Linked DNA regions of Homo sapiens: regions 2 and 3 are each linked to region 1. The links are contacts of gene promoters, found by promoter capture Hi-C in blood cells and fetal thymus (Javierre and others, 2016). All regions are on one chromosome and are shown on one strand. Each heading gives the region's core, a stretch centred on a gene start or on the middle of the fragment in contact. The rest is flanking DNA. Distances are from core to core; before and after follow the strand shown.

What was found. The method cuts DNA at HindIII sites, captures the fragments that hold promoters and counts their contacts. A CHiCAGO score of 5 or more calls a contact.
Region 2: a contact is called between a fragment that was not itself captured here and the fragment with the promoter of EPN3 in region 1, in 6 of 17 cell types (endothelial precursors, M2 macrophages, M1 macrophages and 3 more). The highest score is 9.1, in endothelial precursors.
Region 3: a contact is called between a fragment that was not itself captured here and the fragment with the promoter of EPN3 in region 1, in 5 of 17 cell types (megakaryocytes, M1 macrophages, M0 macrophages and 2 more). The highest score is 7.0, in megakaryocytes.

The regions. Positions count from the first base shown.
Region 1 is chr17:50,530,596-50,534,769 of GRCh38, reverse strand. EPN3 (epsin 3) reads right to left here and starts at 2,035. Exons shown (of 10, transcript NM_017957.3): 1 at 1,785-2,035. It overlaps MYCBPAP (MYCBP associated protein), which reads right to left. Exons shown (of 19, transcript NM_032133.6): 19 at 3,269-3,443. The coding sequence ends at 3,342. RefSeq lists enhancers at 1-492, 493-1,169. The HindIII fragment of the contact is 5,271 bases long and covers 1,782-4,174 here.
Region 2 is chr17:50,722,994-50,727,167 of GRCh38, reverse strand. All of the region lies in intron 1 of LUC7L3 (LUC7 like 3 pre-mRNA splicing factor), which reads right to left. Among named protein-coding and RNA genes, the nearest start is that of LUC7L3, 5.5 kb to the right of the region's middle. RefSeq lists an enhancer at 1,733-2,232. The HindIII fragment of the contact is 2,482 bases long and covers 1,259-3,740 here.
Region 3 is chr17:50,663,062-50,667,235 of GRCh38, reverse strand. ABCC3 (ATP binding cassette subfamily C member 3) reads right to left here. Exons shown (of 31, transcript NM_003786.4): 9 at 3,378-3,555; 10 at 3,125-3,286; 11 at 1,991-2,083. Among named protein-coding and RNA genes, the nearest start is that of ABCC3, 30 kb to the right of the region's middle. The HindIII fragment of the contact is 7,512 bases long and covers 1-4,174 here.

The DNA.
Region 1 (4,174 bases), core at 786-3,285:
TTCAAAGCAGCCCCACGCTTTGAAAACATGCCTTGGCAGGTTTTGTTGGGGGCCCAGAGAATAAGATACCGTGGGAGTGGGCGAGGTGGAGAGTGCCTGGCCCACAGCGCAGCCTACCTTTTGTCTGCTATCTCTTTCCTTCCAGCGGGTCGTGGGCCTTCTGTGGGAATGCCACGGCCACAACTTGTTTAACTCCTGCCCTCCCCCTTGCTAGTGACTCAGACCTGCCTTCACCTCCCCAACCCGTGGCTGGGGGTGGCAGAGTCAAGATGGGAAATAATGTGCACCAAAGCCCGCCCAGCACACGCCCCTACCGGCTGGCCGCTGGAACTAGCAGAACCAGTCGGGCACTGTGACTGCACCAGAGCCCTACCTGGACCTGGCTGCCCTGGCCCTCCGGCCTGGCCTGTGTGGGGGCACCAGCCTCTGGGAGGGGACTCTCGGTGTGGGCCCAGCGGCCCTGCCTGGACCTTTCTCACAGAAGGTGGGCATTCTCTGCACACCCCTGCAGGGGCTGGGGGGAAGGGCGGGGCCAGAAACATGGGGAGGCACCTTGATTTTCCTTCTCTGGAGTTTGAGGGGACAAGGTGAGGCTGCCCAAGCACAGAGAAGGGAGGAGGAAAGGAAGAAGCCTGCCCAAGCGCAGAGAAGGGAGGAGGAAAGGAAGAAGCCTGCCCAAGCGCAGAGAAGGGAGGAGGAAAGGAAGGAACGCGGGAACGCGGGAGGGAGCAGCTGGGAGCGCTGCCAGCAGTGTTACAAGCAAAGGGTTTTATCGAACACGATATGCCCAGAAATAAAAGGGAGTGTAACAGAAACCCAGCGGCCGATAAGGCGGTGGCGGTAGCAGCAGCAGCCCTGGGCAGCTGGGTATGGAATTACTGCAGTGACCTTGAGCCAGACCCTGTCAGGTGGAGGGAAGGGCACAGAGAGGGCAGGGCCTGAGAATTCAGAGATGACGAGAGGGCAGAGGAGGGAGGAAGCTGAGGGGATGGGAGCAGGGCCAGCAGGCGGTGGGATGGGCCACGGGGCACGGAGTATCAGCTCTCTCCTGCATACAGGGTCCCAAGGAGAACTGCGCAGTAGGGAGGGGCTGCTCTTCTCAGGGCCTGCAGGATGGGGGGATCTGGAGAGTTTCCCAAAAGTCAGGACCGAAAAATGCAGATCGCTCATCCCCAGCAAGGGTTTCGGAGAGATGGAGAGAACCCAGATCTGTCCAGTCACACGTGCATGAGTTTGCGTAAAGTCTGTGCACCCACCAGCCCAGCCCACACCCTCTTCCCGTCCTCTGCTAAGGTGGGCTCCAGCCCCTGCCTCCAAGTCAGATCCAGCCTGAGCAGTGGGGAATGACAGTGCCCTTCTTGATGCTGTAAGGGACAGGGGGTGAGCTTGAACTCTAAGCTTCTGGCCACTGTAATAGCTGCATCCCGGGAGCACAGAAGATGGGGGAGGGGGGACTGCCCTGAGGCTAGAGGTGTGCATGAGGGGCTGAAGAAGAGGAAACAGCAGAGATGTGCAGAAGGAGTCTGTGGGGAATGCCACCAAAGATGCTAAGATGCCACCAAAGATGCTAAGTCCCAGGATGGTTGGGGAGGGGGCCCTGAGTCCCTTTTTGGGGGCGGCAGGGAGGGAGGGGTGGCAGGAAAGAAGCCTTTAGGTCCTCTACAGCTCAGCCTTCTCCCTCGCACCTGGAAAAGAGACTAAGCCCCAGAACCACTGTTTGCTCCCCACCAACCCCCGCCTTCCATGCCGCCACTGCCAGGGAGGGGGCCAGGGAGGAAGCTTACCTCCAGTGCGGGCTCCCTCGGCCCCAGCCCCAGCCCGAGTAGCCTCTGCGGTGACCCTCCGACCTGTGCAGCAGCGGGACGGCACAGCCTCGGGAGCGTCTCCAGAGCCATCCACCATGGACCCTCGTCCCAGAGACCCACCTGCTCCCAGGAGGTGCAGACCCCTCAGAGGGGCAGCGGCAGGGTCCCTGGAATGGGTAGCAGCTCTTCCCGCGTGCGTTTGCCTCCTAGCCAGCGCCAGGCAGCACTCCGAGGAAAGTTGCTCAGCTGGCCCGGCAGGTCTGCCTCAGCAGTAACAGGACACAGGAGGAAGTGCAGGGCAGGTTAACCCCTTCCTGCTGGCCAGGCAAGTGGTGCATTGAGAGGTGGGGGGCCTGCCTGTTGGCCGCCCCCAGGAAGTGCACATCTGGAGCCAGTGCTGGCGACCTGATCCCCTCTGCTTTGAGTTAACCCTTCCCCTGCCTCTTCAACAGGAAAGGAGGGGGGCTCCAACACCCCCACCACACCCCTCCCCTTCCTCCTCTGGGCCGGGAGGACATTAAAGGAGAGGGCAGGGACATTCCCTGGGGCTGGCTCTTTGGTGGAGCCCCCGTCTTCTCGTCTTCTTGGGGAGGAGAGCATCAGGACTCCAGCACAGCCCCCTCCCTGCCTTTCCCACACGGAGTCAGATCCTTCTGTCCATCCTCCCCCTCCTGCATCTCAGCTGGAGGATGCCTGAGGCCCACTTAAGGATGCCCACCCACCCAAAAACCAAAGTTGTTCTTCAAACTCTGGGAGCCTGGAGTGCTCTTCACACAGGGAGCCCAGCCCCAAATGGTTATGACTGACAGAAGACAATGAGGGGCCTGAGTTTGAGCTGACAATACCTTTTTTTCTGAGAGCCATTTCTAGCCTGTTTCATGTTCCCCTGAGCAAGGGAGGTAGCATGAAGATCAGCAGCTGTTTTTAAGGCAGAAAGATGGCTCAAGGCCAGATAGTTTGAGATGAGGAGGGGGATAAGGCAGACTAGACCCCGAAATAACAAGGTGATGTGGCCTCTAGAGCTGAAGAGGTGTGGTGAGCATGATCTTCAGGGACTGAATTGGGGCCCTGGGACCCAGCTGAAGAGGGGAGATGGCAGGGAGCCAGGTCCCATGGGTCTAGTTCTACTCCTCATCTCACACTTTGTCATACTTGGTGATGACACTTCGGGAAGACCTGGCTCCAGGAAGCACGACCCTGAAAGTGTGGGCCAAGGAAGCCAGAGGCAGGGACTACCAGAGGTGACACACTGTCCTGTCACCTGACTCCTTGTCTTGCTACCAATCTGCTCCTCTGCTTGGCATCCCACACATCACTTCCCCAGCTATGTCTGTCTGTCCTCCTGCAGGAGGGCTCTGGCAGCTGGCAGGAGGGGATCTGAGGGCAGGTGGAACATGGGAGGACCTGGATCAGGAGCTGACCTAGCCAAGATCCATCATGCAAGACACAGAGGCACACGGAAGTAGTAGAAACTTGAAGGTTCTTTATTGATTTATTTATTAACCCGTTTTCCAGAAGGTTGCTTGGGCCCGAGAGTCACCTGCAGAGGCGCAAAGCCTCCTCGACATTCTTTATGGGGCTGAGCTCATCAGCCAGGACCATCAGGTCAGTCACCAGGGTGTCCAGCAGCCCACGGACCTGGAAGAACGGGACAACATCACAGGCAGAGTTTACTCTGTGGGAAGCACCTATATATGAACTATGCTGTGAGAGAATAGCTGGAGAGGGGAAAGAAACCAGTTGTTTGTGAAAGAATTTCACAAGTTCAAAGTTCTTGTGAAATAATTTTTGGTTTTGCAGATTTTTTTTTTTTTTGACAGGATCTCACTCTGTCACCCAGGCTGGAGTCCAGTGGTGTGATCATGGCTCACTGCAGCCTTGACTTCCCTGGCTCAGGTGATTCTCCCATCTCAGCCTCCCAAGTAGCTGGGACTACAGGCGTGCACCACCAGACCTGGCTACTTTTTTCTATTTTTTGTAGAGATGGGGTTTCACCACATTGCCCAGGCTAGTCTCGAACTCCTGGGCTCAAGCAATCCACCTGCTTTTGCAGTTTTACTTTTCAAACCAGTCTGGGGAGGTGGCCCTGCGCTGGTACCTTTGACATATGGAGATACTAGAGCTAAGTTGTTCAAGGGGCAACTCCAGGGAGCCCATGGAGCGGTGCCCATTTAGCCGTTTGGGGTGGGCCTGGGCTCAGCCCCAGTTCTACTCTGGCCTCCTGGAGGCCAATTTTCCTTCCTGTATCCACAGACTGAAAGGTCTCTGGGACTGACCCCTCCAATGGGGTTGGATCATACAAGCCCAGACAAGTTGATTCTTTTTTTTTTCTGCAGAGATGGGGTCTCCCTGTGTTGTCTAGGCTGATG
Region 2 (4,174 bases), core at 1,250-3,749, 190 kb before region 1:
AGCCTTACAATAACACTAACAGTTGGTTAACACGTATTTTGTATATTATTTGTATTATATACTGTATTCTTTTTTTTTTGAGACAAAGTCTCGCTCTGTCAGCCAGGCTGGAGTGCGGTGGCATGATCTCGGCTCACTGCAACCTCCGCCTCCCGGGTTCAAGAAATTCTCCTGCCTCAGCCTCCTGAGTAGCTGGGATTACAAGCACCGGCCACAACGCCTGGCTAATTTTTGTATTTTTAGTAGAGACAGGGTTTCACCATGTTAGCCAGGCTGGTCTCCAACTCCTGACCTCAAGTGACCGCCCACCTCGGCCTCCCAAAGTGCTGGGATTAAAGACGTAAGCCACCGTGCCTGGCTATATACTGTATTCTTACAATAAAGTAAGCTAGAGATGTGCACTGTAGAATGTTTAGGGAAAAAAATAACTATAAGTAAGCTAGAGAAAAAAATGTGAAAACACATTTACAGTGCTGTATTTATCAATACCCTAAGTTTAGGTCATCTGTATACAAAAGATGAATTGTCTCAAATGCCAGCAACCCCAGGTGCAGATCTCAGTCTATCGTACATATCAAGCAATTTAACTTCTTGTACTGTCATGACTTTTCTGCTTCTTCGGAGCACTTCCAATGTCACTAGCTGCACTTCGTATGGGTCTCAGGGCGTTATTCAAAGGTCATGGTATTGTACATAGGCCAGGCGCTGTGGCTTACACCTCTAATCCCAGCACTTTGGGAGGCCAAGGTGGGCGGATCACTTAAGGCCAGGAGTTCGAGCCCAGCCTGGCCAACATGACAAAACCCCATCTCTACTAAAAATACAAAACTTAGCCAGACATGGTGGTACACGGCTGTAATCCCAGCTACCTGGGAGGCTGAGGTATGAGAACTGCTTGAACCTGGGAAGCAGAGGTTGCAGTGAGCCGAGATGGCACCACTGCACTCCAGCCTGGGCGACAGAGCAAGACTGTCTCAAAAACAACAACAACAAAAAGCAAAACAACAAGTTTATACGGTATTGCAATAAACAATGATGAAAATACACAAGAACCAAGGGATAATTTTTTACTGTGATATGCAATTTACTTTAGACACCAACTGCTCATGCAGAGATTATCAAGAGTCACAGGTCATAGGGCATTTTAAGTGGAGCCTGGCAACACTTGAGCTCACTGTAATAGCAACAGGTGGCTACAAAATTATTACAGTATTACAGTATGTACTATAGTTAATTTTATGCAGTTATTACTCAAGCTTTACTTTCTCTGGACTGCTAGTGGCACCATGTACTGTGTGCATAAGTTTTTATAAAGTTTAACTTTTTATGATTCGTATGTATTTTGTGGTAGGAAAATGATAAACTAGTATATACATCTATTTTATGTATTTGTGATGTACTTATCTTTTCTTAAATTTTAAAAATATTTCTAAGCTATGTGATTCGTCTTCAAGTTTTTTCAAATTGTTGCAAATCTCCAAAAAATGTTCCAATATATTTATTGAAAAAACTCCACGTATAAATGGACACACTCAACTCAAACCCGTGTTGTTCAAGGGTCAATTTTACTTTTCCCAATGGTAGGATTTATCATATTCTGTTATGGAAATGCGTTTACATTCAATTGGAATAATCCCCATTGGAAAAAAAAAGTGCATTTACTGTCACCAATACATGATGGCTCTTTAGGACCAAGTGCTGTATCTGTACTATCCTGCTGTTATCTACCTAAGAGCAATACTTTTAATTTTTTTTTTGAAATGGAGTCTTGCTCCTGTCACGCAGGCTGGAATGCAGTGGCGTGATCTCGGCTCACTGCAACCTCCACCTCCCGGGTTCAAGCGATTCTCCTTCCTCAGCCTCCCGAGTAGCTGGGATTACAGGCGTGCGCCACCACACCTGGCTAATTTTTGTATTTTTAGTAGAGACAGGGTTTCGCCATGTTGGCCAGGCTGGTCTCAAACTCCTGAGCTCAGGTGATCCACCCGCCTCAGCCTCGCAAAGTGCTAGGATTACAGGCGTGAGCCACCGCTCCCAGCCGAGCAATACATTTTTGTTGGATAAATGAATACAACAATTTTCCTAACTTACTATAAGAAATGAAGAGAAAGGCTGGGCATGGTGGCTCACCCCTGTAATCCCAGCACTTTGGGAGGCCGAGGGAGGATCACTTGTTGTCAAAAGTTCAAGACCAGCCCGGCAAACATGGTGAAACCCCATCTCTACAACAACACAAAAATTAGTCAGGCATGGTGGCATGCACCTGTAATTCCACCTACTCTGGAGGCTGAGGCAGGAGAATCGCTTGAACCCGGGAGGTGGAGGTTGCAGTGAGCTGAGATCACACCACTGCACTCCAACCTGGGCAACAGAGCAAGACTCCATCTCGGGGGTAAAAAAAAAAAAAAAAAGAGAAAATATTTCATAAAACGAAGAACTGTATTAGCAAAAAAGTCAAATTTACAAACTTAAGCTACCTTCTCCTTTTGTGAGGAAATCAAGGCTAATAACATATATAATGACACACACACACACACACACACACACACACACACAATTTTCCTAAAGCAACCAAAGATTTACGAAATACCTTACTATAATTTTCAGTGATTATGGTATTGTGGTTATTTTATTCTATTTTTTTTTTGAGACAGAGTGTCACTCTGTTGCCCAGGCTGGACTGTGGTGGCACCATCTCGGCTCACTGCAACCTCTGCCTCCTGGGTTGAAAGGATCCTCCTGCCTCAACCTCCAGAGTAGCTGGGATTACAGGAATGCACCACTACGCCCAGCTAATTTTTTTATTTTTTATTAGAGACAGGGTTTCACCATGTTGGCCAGGCTGGTCTCGAACTCCTGGCCTCAAGTGATCTGCCTGCCTTGGCCTCCCAATGTTGAGATTACAGGTGACCCACCATGCCCGGTCGGCTATGTTTTTTTTTTAAAGTCCTTGTATTTTACAGATATACAATGACCGCTTTAAGGTTGACAATAACAGAATTGCTTCAAAATAATGGAAGGGATACAGAGGAAATAATATTGACTATGTGCTAATATTGCTAAATTGGGCATGGGTACATGGGGAGTTCAATTTATTATACTATTCACTCTAATTCTGTATGTTTTGGGAAGAAAAGCAAATAGCAATTACATACACATATAACACATGGACTGCTGGCAATTCTGAGAAGCCAACACTTACTATTTTACTATGGAGTAAGGTAGGAAATGCCAGCCGGGCGCAGTGGCTCACGCCTGTAACCTCAGCACTTTGGGAGACTGAGGCGGACCGATCACTTGAGGTCAGGAGTTCAAGACCAGCCTGGCCAATATGGCAAAACCCTGTCGACTAAAAATACAAAAATTAGCCGGGCGTGGTGGCCCACACCTGCAATCCCAATTACTCGGGACGCTGAGGCCAGGAGGTGGAGGTTGCAGTGAGCCAAGATCATGCCACTACACTCCAGCCTGGGTGACAGAGCTAGACTCTGTCTCAAAAAAAAAAAGGGGGGGGGGCAGGGAGCAGGGTAGAAAATGCTTTTCTATCTTACTCCATAGTAACATAGTAAGTTACTATGAACATTTTGGTGACTCTGAATGAAAACTAGTAAAATACATATTAATAGATGCCATCATGCATTATAATTACTAGTTTTTTGCTTTCAATTTTTGCTCCCAAATTCTGAACATTTTTAAAGCAAAAAGAAAAAGTATACAAGTAAAAAATGTGGACAGAAGCTTTAGCTATTTTTCCTTTTCTAAACAACTTTTCAGTGTCAATGACAGTATCTGCTAACATTCCAAAGATTTTAGAAAAGAACATAGTTCAATTTCCTTCATAAATTATTAAACCTTCATGTTAAACCTTCATGGAAGGAAGGGTAGGCTTGAGTTTGATAAATGGAAGAAAACTCATTTCAGATATTAGAATCAGTGTTAATGATTAAGTAATTTCATTTTCAGGTTGAGATCTAGAATATAAAAACCTCAATTTGAACTACAAAATTTCTGTCTTGCTACATAAAAAATAACAAAACTCCCGATCAGACTTTACAATTTACTACAATCTTCTAATAATATGGCTACTAGTGCCTTCTCTGGCTAACACTGAAATCAAACCCTCACTGAAAGGTACTCACCCTAGGCAGTTAGTTACAATCACATGCTTTCCTCA
Region 3 (4,174 bases), core at 1,162-3,661, 130 kb before region 1:
GTATTATTTATTTTAGAGATGGTGCCTCACTGTGTTGCCCAGGCTGGACTGCAGTGGTACAATCATAGCTCACTGCAGCCTCAAACTCCTGGGCTCCTTTGATCCTCCTGTCTCAGCCTCCTGACTAGCTGGAACTACAGGCATGAACAACCATGCCCAGCTAATTTTTAAATTTTTTTGTAGGGACGAGGTCTCACTCTGTTGCCCAGGCTGATTTCAAACTCCTGGCCTCATGTGATCCTCCCACCTTGGCCTCCCCAAGTGCTGGGATTACAGGTGTGAGCCACCACACCTGGTCCCCTTCCCTGGGTTTCTAAAGCACATTGCACTTTCCTTTTGTTCCATAACCATTCCTTTACATATATGTTTCTCTAATCAGACTGTGAGCTTCCTGAGGGGATGGACTATTTATTTCTCTTTGTTCTCCAAGACCTTAGCCCAAGGTGTGGCACACCAGATTAATGTATTCATTCAACCCCTATTTATGGAGTGCCTACTATGTGCCAGGCCATGGGCTACGTGTAGAATTTGTCACGATGAATTCAGACAAGGCCCCTGCCATGATACAGCTGACGATCTGATGGGGGAGGCATACAATAAGCAAACAATGATCTGAATAAATGCTTAATTATTAATCATTATGTGTGTTCTGATGGGAAATCACAGGATCCTGTAAGAAAGTAATGAGGTGATGGCAGGGAAACTAACTTAGACTGAGACTGGGCAGTCAGGGTGGACTTCTGGAGGAAGTGACTTTTTTTTTTGAGACGGAGTTTCGCTCTTGTTGCCCAGGTGGGAGTGCAATGGCGCGATCTTGGCTCACCGCAACCTCTGCCTCCTGGATTCAAGGGATTCTCCTGCCTCAGACTCCAGAGTAGCTGGGATTACAGGCATGTGCCACCATGCCCGGCTAATTTTGTATTTTTAGTAGAGACGGGGTTTCTCCATGTTGGTCTGGCTGGTCTCGATCTCCCAACCTCAGGTGATCCACCTGCCTCGGCCTCCCAAAGCTCTGGGATTACAGGCATGAGCCACCGTGCCCAGCCGAGGAAGTGACTTCAATGCCGAGAGGTAAGGGAAGGAAAGGAGTTAGGCAGGCAAGAGGGGGATGACAAGCATTCCAGGCAGAGGGAATAGTATATGTGGTGGCCCCTAGAGGTACCCTGAGCTTGGTGCTGTGGAGAAAAGAAAGAAGACCAGACTGGCTGAAACTTGGCCAGTCCGCAGGGGGTGAGGACTTGCAAGGTAAGCAGAAGCCTGCTGAGTCTTCTTAGGGGGTTTGTCATTTTTCCTATGGGCAGTGGGAAGCTAGTAGACTTCAATAGGCCAGGTGTGATGGCTCACACCTGTAATCCCAGCACTTTGGGAGGCTAAGATGAACGGATCACCTGAGGTCAGGAGTTTGAGACCAGCCTGGCCAACATGGTGAAACCCCATCTCTACTAAAAAAAAAAATACAAAAATAAGCCGGGTGTGGTGGCATGTGCCTGTAGTCCCAGCTACTAGGGAGGCTGAGGCAGGAAGATCGCTTGAACCCGGGAGGCAGAGGTTGCAGTGAGCCGAGATCATGCCACTGCATTCCAGCATGGGTGACAGAACGAGACCCTGTCTCAAAAAAAAAAAAAAAGAAAAAAAACACTTCAAGAAATGTTTGCAAATAGTAGACTGAGTGACTGGCTATTCATGCTTAGCACAGTGCAGCGGGAAAACTCCTTGTTAGACCAGGATAGTCAGGTTTGAGTCCCAGCCCTGCCTGATTCTGGACTGCCATTATTTCTCTAAGCGTTGGTCTTCTGCTACAAAATGAGAATGTCAGTAAAACCCTCTGAGAGCTGTGAGGGAAGAGTGAGCTATGGTTTCTGCAAATGGCTAGTAGCCATCCATACTCAGGAAGCAAGGTAGTTGGGAGGCCCCAAGGTTAGTGGACACCTTCCCCCAGGCAGCCGGCCGGGTGCTGCAGGCAGGAGGATGCACCTCTGACAGCACCTACCTGGAAGGCGCGCATCTTCACGGCCACAGCTCCGTTGAGTGGAATCAGCAAGACCATGAAAGCGACTCCAGCCAGGACAGAGGGACCTAGGTTCTGAGGAGGCACCGGTGGATAGATGACACATAGGGACAGATTACCAAAGTCTACAGAGAGAACCCAACAGGCAAACAGAGGCCTGTTAACTTGAAATGTGTAGATGGGCAGGAAGCAAAAGATGGTGGTTGGCCAAACAGATAGAAAGTCAGAATGACCACAACATTTGTAGAAGCAGCCAGCCATTAGATAACGACGACAGGGACAGACAGCAGATATAGAAGGGTGTCCAGACACACAGGAAGGCAAATATAGACGATGACAGCCAGAGTCACACCCACCTCCCTCCAAGACTTTCTTTCCTCCCTGGCTTCTGCAGGAAGGATAGCAACAGATGTTGGGAAGATTCCTTTGCAGACATCAGCATCCTCGAAGTCCTATCCCTCCATCCCCACCAATGCCTAGGGAAGCTCTTGTGTCAATTCTTTTTTTTTTTTTTTTTTTTTTTTTGAGACAGAGTCTTGCTCTGTCACCCAGGCTAGAGTGCAGTGGTATGATCTCGGCTCACTGCAACCTCTGCCTCCTGGGTTCAAGCGATTCTCCTGCCTCAGCCTCCTGAGTAGCTGTGACTACAGGCACCCGCCACCACGTCTGGCTAATTTTTGTATTTTTAGTAGAGATGGGGTTTCACCATCCTGGCCGGGCTGGTCTCGAACTCCTGACCTCGTGATCCACCCGCCTTGGTCTCCCAAAATGCTGGGATTACAGGCGTGAGCCACCGTGCCCAGCCAGCTCTTGTGTCAATTCTATATCCCCTCTGCTAACCCAGAATAACCCTCCTTCTTTTTTTCTGTTTTCTTTGTTTCTTTTTAGAGACAAGGTCTTGCTATGTTGCCCAGGCTGGAGTGTGGTGGCTATTCGCAGGCACAATCGTGGCGCACTGCAGCCAGAACTCTTGGGCTCAAGTGATCCTCTTGCCTCAGCCGCCTGAGCAGCTGGGACTACAAGCATGTGCCATGCTCCCAGTTCCAGAATAATCCTCTCTTGCCACTTCTGCAGCATGTCAGAGGAAGGAGGCAGAGGTCAGGGTTGGAGAGTCACCTGCCAGAGGAAGTAGATCGCCAGGATGATCTGCAGGGGTGCTGACCACAGCAGATTGAGGAAGGGGGCAAGGTCCATGAAGCGCTGGGCATCCACTGACATGAGGTTGACAATTTCCCCCACAGTGGACGCACGTTTGACTGAGTTGGTGATAACCAGAGCCTGCAGGTAGACAGTAGTGGGTGGACTTGGCTGCGAGCCTCTTGCAAGCTGCCCAGGGCCAGCCTTTCCCCTGGGCCCTGCTCCAGCTGACCTTCCTGTAGATGACACCCATGATCCCAGTACGAAACTTCACCCCAGTCACAAAGATGTAGTGGTAATAGTGTTGTAAGATCAGCGACTGCATCATGGAGCACAGGAACATCAGCCCAGCCACCAGGAAGCCCCACCAGGAGGGGGCCATGGGGTTGGAGATAAACCTGATCAGGATGCTGTGGGGAGGAGAGAGGAGTGAGGTGGGCAGTGCTGCCCCCATGGCTGCTCCCTCCTCTGCTGCCCTTTGCTTTTACCCGCAGTCTCCACTGCACCCCTGGCCTCTGAAACCTCCACCCCCTCCAACCTCTTGGGCCAGGGAGGGTCAACCCAGTACTGCCTCAAGACCACGACCTCCTGGCTCCACTCTGCCTTCACCTCGTTCTCTATCCACCATGGACCCTGCTGCACGCCCTATCGATGACGCTCTCACCACCAGCCTCACCTGCCTGCCTTCTTACCTCCTGACATATGGCGGGAAGAAATGCCACGTTTCCATTGACTGGACTTCCCTGCTCCTTCTCCTAGGCTGCTGGGGGCTCTAGATTCCGCCACATGACCACAAAGACTCTTGCCGCTCAAATCCACCTTTCCAAACTCAGTGGCCCCCAGCACTGCCTAGCAACCTTCTCTAGGTCCCTAATCCGCCCCCGCTCTTGGGGCCTTCTTCACCTCTCTTCTCTTCCCTTCAGGCCCATCCCAGCCCCCCACCCCTCTCAGCAGCTACCTGCCTTCTTGCTTAGCCACCCATTGAGAACTCCCTGCCACCCACAAACTCCTTGCCACTCACAAACTGCC